Linked DNA regions of Homo sapiens: region 1 is linked to region 2. Evidence: promoter capture Hi-C in human tissues and cell types (Jung and others, 2019). All regions are on one chromosome and are shown on one strand. Each heading gives the region's core, a stretch centred on a gene start or on the middle of the fragment in contact. The rest is flanking DNA. Distances are from core to core; before and after follow the strand shown. Region 1 overlaps C1orf21 (chromosome 1 open reading frame 21). Region 2 holds the start of COLGALT2 (collagen beta(1-O)galactosyltransferase 2).

Region 1 (4,020 bases), core at 1,146-3,645, 540 kb before region 2:
GGAGTTTGAGACCAGCCTGGCCAACATGGTGAAATCCCTCCTCTACTAAAAATACAAAATTTAGCCAGGCATGGTGACGTGTGCCTGTAATCCCAGCTACTCGGGAGGCTGAGACAGGAGAATCTCTTGAAACCGGGAGATGGAGGTTTCAGTGAGCTGAGATCAAGCCCTTGCACTCCAGTCTGGGTGACAGAGCAAGATTCCGCCTCAAAAAACAAAACAAACAAACAAACAAACAAAAAAACATTCCCTCAAACCTCACCTTCTTAATACTAAAGGGAACAACACCCATGTTCAGGATGCCGACTAAAAGCATTGTCTGCAAGGAATGGAACTGCTTTTCTCCTATCACTTCTTTACCTTTTTTATCCCACTTAGTCTAAGAAAGCTGTTGCCCTGTAAGGTTCCCTTTGCAAATTGGTTCTGAATTGATAGTCTGGAGAGGAATCTCATTTTCTTTTTCTGGGTTCAGCAATAGGAAGTCTGTCTTACAGAGAAATCTCAGGGGCCAGATAGATGCTGGAGGCCTAGAGAAAAGTAGTGGGGATTAGAGTATCGGCTCTTGGGACTGCTAATGAGTGCCCTACACAGAGAGGAGACATAAAAGCACTAAATTGGGACTCTCAAAGGGTGTGCCCTGCACACAGACTGTGAGCATGTGTGTGTGTACATTTGCACAACTGCATTTCAGAAGCACATGAAAACTAGAAAAAATAATTTGACAACTAGAAGCAAGAGATTTGTGGTGAAGTACACACACATTTTAAAAATTTGGCTATAAAATAAACAATAATGCTAGCTTTGGGGGAGTAACCCACAGGATGTAATCTCTAAGAAAACAATCCCATTTGATGTCTTACACTTGATTTCTCAAGCGGTATTAACATGAGATAGGACACTGTCTCCTTCAAATACAAAGGAATTTTATCTTGTCTTCTGAATGATGGTGATCAGAGAAGCCACCTTGACTCTCAGAATTTCAGGATGTTTACAAATGAAGCCCAAGCTGCCAGATTCAACAATTAACTCAAGCCACCAGTATCAATACAATTACCTGAAGTCAATACTTCCATTACAATTACCTGTCCACAGAGATTATTAGAGTTATTAGTATTTTGTTACAATTATTTAGTAGTAATAAAGTTGGCATGTAAAGTCTCAGCTTTTTGGAAGTTATTTTTCTATAAATTAAAATACAGCCATGTATCTCATTTTATATCAAACAAACATGAAGTGGGGCAAATCAGTTTTAAAGCACCTAACATTTTTCACAAAGTTGCTTTTCAAGGTAGACTGCAAACATTTACAATCTTAAGAAAGTAAACAGAGTTGTAAAAAATTGCTCAGAACAGATTTAATTGCATACCAACAAATTTATTAAAAGTCATTAAGTCACCATGTCAATAATTAAAATAAGCTATGATATAAATTCCACTGGGAATTATAAGTTAAGGCTGTTTTAAAAAGATAATATATCTCCAAGTTTTTCAAATAAGTATTATATACACACACAGAAAATCAACGAACTTGGAAGAACCACATTCAATTTTTACCCAGAGTGTTTTTAATCAGTCAGAATAGGGTAGGTTATGCTATAGTAAAAAATGACCCCCAGTATTAATTTTTTTTTTTTTTTGAGACAGGGTCTCCCTCTGTCACTCAGGCTGGAGTGCAGTGGCACAATCTCGGCTCACTGCAACCTTCGCCTCCCAGGTTCAAGCAATTCTCCCGCCTCAGCCTCCTCCTGAGTGGCTGGGATTACAGATGCATGCCACCATGCCTGGCTAATTTTTGTATTTTTAGTAGAGATGGGGTTTCACCATATTGGTCAGGCTGGTCTGGAACTCCCAACCTCAGGTGATCCACCTGCCTTGGCCTCAAAAAGTGCTGGGATTACAGGCGTGAGCCACCTCGCCCAGCCAATATTAATAGTTTATCTCCTGCACACACTACACGACCAGCACAGGCTGCAGGATGGCTCTGCTTAATCTAATCACCCAGCGACTTGGGTTAATGGAGGCCCCATGTCAACAGGTGGTTTTATAATAACCATGGCTGGAGTTCAGCAAGGGTTAGATGTTCCTACTTACTTGGCCAAAGCATGTCACAGGACCACATCTAAATTCAAGAGAGGAAAAAAATACATAGGGAGTTTTCAAAAAAGTTCATGGAAAACGTGTATTATGAAAAAAATATGCATGGATTTCAAAATTTTTTCCACCAAAATAAATTTGTACTGACTAGTTATAACATGATTGAACAGAATCTAGTTCAAGGCACTAAGGATAAGATATCAGTTTGAAAACAGCCCCTATCAGAGCAATATGAATTTTACTAAAACTGAAGCAAGAACAAACACAAATTTATGGTGAAGCTTAAGTGGAAGAATGGTGAAATCATTGATGCTTGTTGAAAAGTTTATGGGGACAACGTCCCAAAGAAATCAGCAGGTTACAAGTGGATAATTCATATTAAGAAGGGATGAGATGATGTTGAAGATGAAGCCCACAGGGGCAGACCATCCACATCAATTTGTAAGGGAAAAATCAATCTTGTTCATGCCCTATTTGAGGAGGACCAATGATTAACAGCAGAAACAATAGTCAACATCATAGACATCTCAATTGGTTCAGCTTATGTAAGTCTGACTAAAAAATTCAAGTTCAGTAGACTTTCCATTCAATGGGTGCCAAAGCTGTTGCACCCAGATTAGCTGCAGACAAGAGCAGAGCTTTCAATGAAAACTTTAAATAAGTGAGATCGAGAACCTGATCTGCATTCCCTCAAAGGATTGTAACAGGAGATGAAACGTGGCTTTACCAGTACAATCCTGAAGACAAAGCACAATCAAAGTGATGGCTACCAAGAGGAGGAAGTGGTCTACATAAAGCAAAAGTGAACCAGTCAAGAGTCAAGGTCATGGCAAAAATTTTTAGGGATGTTCAAGACATTTTGCTTGTTGACTTTCTGGAGGGCCAAAGAATGATAACACCTGATTATTAGGAGAGTGTTTTGAGAAAGTTAGCCAATACTTTTGGAGAAAAATGCCCCAGAAAGCTTCACCAGAGAGTCCTTCTCCACCATGACAAGGCTCCTGCTCATTCCTCTCATTAAGCAAGGGCAATTTTGCAAGAGTTTTTATGGGAAATCATTAGGCATCCACCCTACAGTCCTGATTTGGCTCCTTCTGACTTTTTGTTTTCTAATTTTAAAAAATCTTTCACACAAGGAGTCATCTCTACTTTAAGAAAATCTTGGGCTGGGCGCAGTGGCTCATGCCTGTAATCCCAGCACTTTGACAGGCCGAGGAGGGTGGATCACGAGGTCAGGAGTTCGAGACCAGCCTAACCAACATGGTGAAACCCCGTCTCTGCTAAAAATACAAAAATTAGCCAGGTGTGGTGGTGGGTGCCTGTAATCCCAGCTACTCGGGAGGCTGAGGCAGGAGAATCACTTGAACCCAGGAGGTGGAGGTTGCAGTGAGCTGAGATCGTGCCACTGCACTCCAGCCTGGGCGACAAGAGTGAAACTCCATCTTAAACAAAAAAAAAAGGAAAAAAAAAAAAAAAAAGAAAATCTTGATGGGATGCTGAGGTGGGAGATTGCTTGAGGCCAGGAGTTCAAGACCAGACTGGGCAACATGGTGAGACCTCGTCTCAAAAAAAAAAAAAAAAAAAAAAAAAAAACCCAGCTTATATTAAAAAAATACCTTTAGGTCAGGTGTAGTAGTTCATGCCTATAATCCCAGCACTTCGGGAGGCTGAGGTGGGCAGATCACTTGAGTCCAGGAGTTTGAGACCAGCCTGGCTAACATGGTGGAACCCTATCTCTACTAAAAATACCAAAAAAAAAAAAAAAAAATTAGCCAGGCATGGTGGTGCACTCCTGTAGTCCCAGCTACTCAGGAGGCTGAAGCACAAGAATTGTTTGAACCCAGGAGGTGGAGGTTGCAATGAGCCGAGATGGAGCCACTGCACTCCTGTCTGGGCAATGGAGTGACTCTGTCTCAAAAAAAAAAAG
Region 2 (3,490 bases), core at 903-3,402:
GCTTTAAACTCCCTCTGTTTGCAGTAAAGTGAACAAATGATAACTATCAAACCAAGTTTGGCTAAGGAGTGCGGATTTTAGTATTGAAAGATGAGTGGGACATAGTTCAAGAAAGGGAAACAAGAAAGACAGAACAACATGGAGATTGTCTGGACCTTTCTAACAGTCCCATCACTACCTCCCTTGTGGAAATGACCACATCTTCCTCTATCCCTTCACTGTAGCTGGTACATCTGTTACAGTACTTCTAACAGATGTTTAACTCTCAGTCTTCCCTACAAGACTGTGAGCCCCTTGAAAGTGGGAACAATTCCTGAAAATGGATGGAGGGGAAGGAAATGTCTGTAGGCCATTCGATAAAAAAATATGAAGATTAGAGAAGAGATTAGAGCAGAAGACATAGATTTTGAGGATATAACCACAGGAGACCATATGGAGTGGGAAGACTAGCACACTATAGGGAGGCACACAGTGAAGGGGCTTGGCTCAGAGACAAGTAGTATCAGAGGAGATCTAGGATGGGAGATTATGTAATCGAAGTCCAGGAAGGTGAGAACGGAAGAGTTTACTGAATCTGCCAATGCTGAGGCCATCTGTTGGTTTTGCAGAACAGTGGGGAGGGCTGACGCCTTACTGCACTGTGGTGGGAAAGATGGGAGATGAAGAAGTGGAGAATACAAGTATAGATCTCTCTTCCAAGGAGCTTGGTCAAGCAAAGGGATGACTAGAAGAAGACACAGGACTTTTTTTTAAAGCTTTTCTTTCTTTTTTTTTTAACGGATAAGAGAAGACTGACCAAGTATTTAGCTTGAGAGAAAGGAGTTGATAGAGATCAGTTGAAGATTCAGTAGAGAGTGGAATGATAGAGAAAAATCATGGGCTAGAAAGGGAGACCTCTCCCTTTCTAGTCTGTGATCAAAGACCCTGTCGTGAGGAGGCACCTGCAAGTAAGAAAGGTCTTGGTAGGGATGCTAGTTGGAGACAGTGGTGTTGGGGGAGCTGGATGAAGGAGGTGATATACTTCAAAAGACAGTAGGGAAGACTTCTAATAGTTGCTGAGAAGGATTGATAACAACTAATAAAAAGACTATGGGACAGACCTGAGGGTGAGTTGGGATTGGAGATCATGAATGTGCACTGGCACCAAAACACCCTCCATACTTATCTATCAAAGGCTACACAATATATCTTCAAAACTAAATATCCAGCCGAGCATGGTGGCTGATGCCTGTAATCGTAACACTTTGGGAGGCCGAGTTGGGCAGATCACTTGAGCCCAGGAGTTCCAGACCAGCCTGGGCAAAATGGTGAAAACCCGTCTCTACAAAAAAAAAAAAAAAAAAAAAAATTAGCTAGGCGTGGTGATGGACACCTGTGGTCCCAGCTACTCGGGAGGCTGAGGTGGGAGGATTGCTTGAGCCCAGGAGGTCGAGGCTGCAGTGAATTGTGATCGTGCCTCTGCACTCCAGCCCCGGCAACAGAGTGAGGCCCTGTCTCAAAAAAAAAAAAAAAAAAAAAGTAAATCTCCTTTAGCAGTGTATGCCAGCAGTTTCATTTTATGTGCTAATTGTGTTCTTCCTTCACCCCTTCTTTTCTTCCTTATCTCTTCTCTGCTCTCCAACATGCGCGAATTTTCCCTCTTTGTTACTCTATCATATTGGCTTATTACGGAAAAAGAAAACCAGCTAAGTGAATTTATTCTTTCACAGCCCTCCTGTGAGGAGGCTTACTGGGTTCACAGTAGAGTGAGGCTTCAGGACAGTGTCTCCCAAGGGCTTTCTTTTATTTTGCGGGGTCTGATCTGGCTCCAAAATTCTCCAAGTCTTCAAACTTTGTGTTATTAGGTGTCTACTCAGTCAAGAATGAATTTCAGAAGTTGAGTATATAAGAAAATGCGACATGCTGCCTTTGCGGTGGTTAAACAAGTGTTTGTCATAATCGTGAATAGTTGGGGAGACTTTTCATTTTAGAACTCTACTCAGTCAATAGGTGCATTATGAAAACTGGATACATTGCATCACTGTGAAGGGCTTCAGTCTGCGGTTTGCAAAAGCAGAATAAATTTTCTTGGGGTTGTACCGTTATGTACACACACACACACACACACACACACACACACACACACTCACAGGCTCATTGGCAGACAGGGCCACAACTCGCGGCTCTAGGGAAGGCCACAGACCTCAGCTGTACGAGCGGAACCTGGACTAGAGGAACTTTCCTCAGGACTCAGGGCACACAGCCCCTCGGCCACTACTGTCTGCGAGCCCGAGGCGCAGGGGAGCGCCAGCGGCTGCAGGTACGCTGCGCACCCGCACTGGGGCCTGGGCGGTGCAGCGGCGGCGGGAGGGTCCTGGGAACCGCAGCCGCCGAGGCCAGTGTGTGAGCCGGCCGGCCGCGGCAAGCCGCATCCCCCGGCCGCCCCTCGCAGCCCCTTGCTCCCCGGCAGCCGCCGCCGCCCTCAGGCAGCCCAGCCGGGCGCTCGCGCCAGGACTTCCCCGCCGCCCGCCTCGGCCCGGAACATGGCTGCGCGCCCTGCTGCCACCCTCGCCTGGTCGCTACTGCTCCTCTCCTCAGCCCTGCTCCGCGAAGGCTGCCGAGCGCGCTTCGTCGCCGAGCGGGACTCGGAGGACGACGGAGAGGAGCCGGTGGTTTTCCCGGAGTCGCCCCTGCAGAGCCCCACGGTGCTCGTGGCGGTCCTCGCCCGCAACGCGGCGCACACGCTGCCGCACTTCCTCGGCTGCCTGGAGCGGCTGGACTACCCCAAGAGCAGGATGGCCATCTGGTGAGCGCGCACGGGCCCCGGGCCGCCGCGGCGGGACGCGGGGGCGGCCTGCCCAGCGCGGACAGCGCCCGGAGCAGCAGCTGCAGGGCGAGGGAGCCGCTGGAGGGGCGGGGGGGCACGCGGAAAATCTGGCGCACACACCCCCTCGCTGCCCGCGCCGGTGGCTGGCGGATCGGGCGGTCAGGCTGCGGAGGGACGCGCGGGTCAGTGTGCGCAGAGGGTGCTGATGGGGAGAACCGGACCGCTGGAGCTCTGGAGGGTAGCCTGCGAATTGGGGCTTTGTCCCACAAGGGGCATGGGGGACACCCCTCAAGGGGACTTTCAGTTCCCTCGCTTTTAACTCTCGAGGTTTCCTCTTTCCCCACCTCATACTGCTAGCCCTGACGTGAGGGGATAGGGTGCCTGTCGCCGTATTCCCATGTAGATACGACAGATGGAACGTAACTGCGGTTGGCCAGGGGCTCCGCAGTGGCTGGGGCGCCGCAGTGCGCTGCTCTGACTTTCCGGTGCCGGGCTCCTGCTCCAGGCTGGAAATGTGCTCCTAGCTCTCCTAGGGGGACCTGGACCTAGGGGTGGAGATTGGGCGGAGCCCGCGGAGTGTGCCCAACCATGGCACCACCGTGGGCCTGGTCTCCTGCGAGCGCTCCGGGCTGTCCCTGCCGGTGCATCGGGGTTCCACGTCCCGGGGAGAGACGAAGATGCCCT

The links. The method cuts DNA at HindIII sites, captures the fragments that hold promoters and counts their contacts. A contact is called where the count stands out against the background at its distance.
Region 1: a fragment that was not itself captured here is called in contact with the fragment with the promoter of COLGALT2 in region 2 in 1 of the 25 tissues and cell types used here (dorsolateral prefrontal cortex).

Annotation. Positions count from the first base shown.
Region 1 is chr1:184,579,046-184,583,065 of GRCh38, reverse strand. The region is part of intron 3 of C1orf21 (chromosome 1 open reading frame 21); the gene reads right to left. Among named protein-coding and RNA genes, the nearest start is that of EDEM3, 170 kb to the left of the region's middle. The HindIII fragment of the contact is 6,340 bases long and covers 1-4,020 here.
Region 2 is chr1:184,036,390-184,039,879 of GRCh38, reverse strand. COLGALT2 (collagen beta(1-O)galactosyltransferase 2) reads left to right here and starts at 2,152. Exons shown (of 12, transcript NM_015101.4): 1 at 2,152-2,785. The coding sequence starts at 2,523. RefSeq lists a silencer at 2,340-2,429. The HindIII fragment of the contact is 4,544 bases long and covers 1-3,490 here.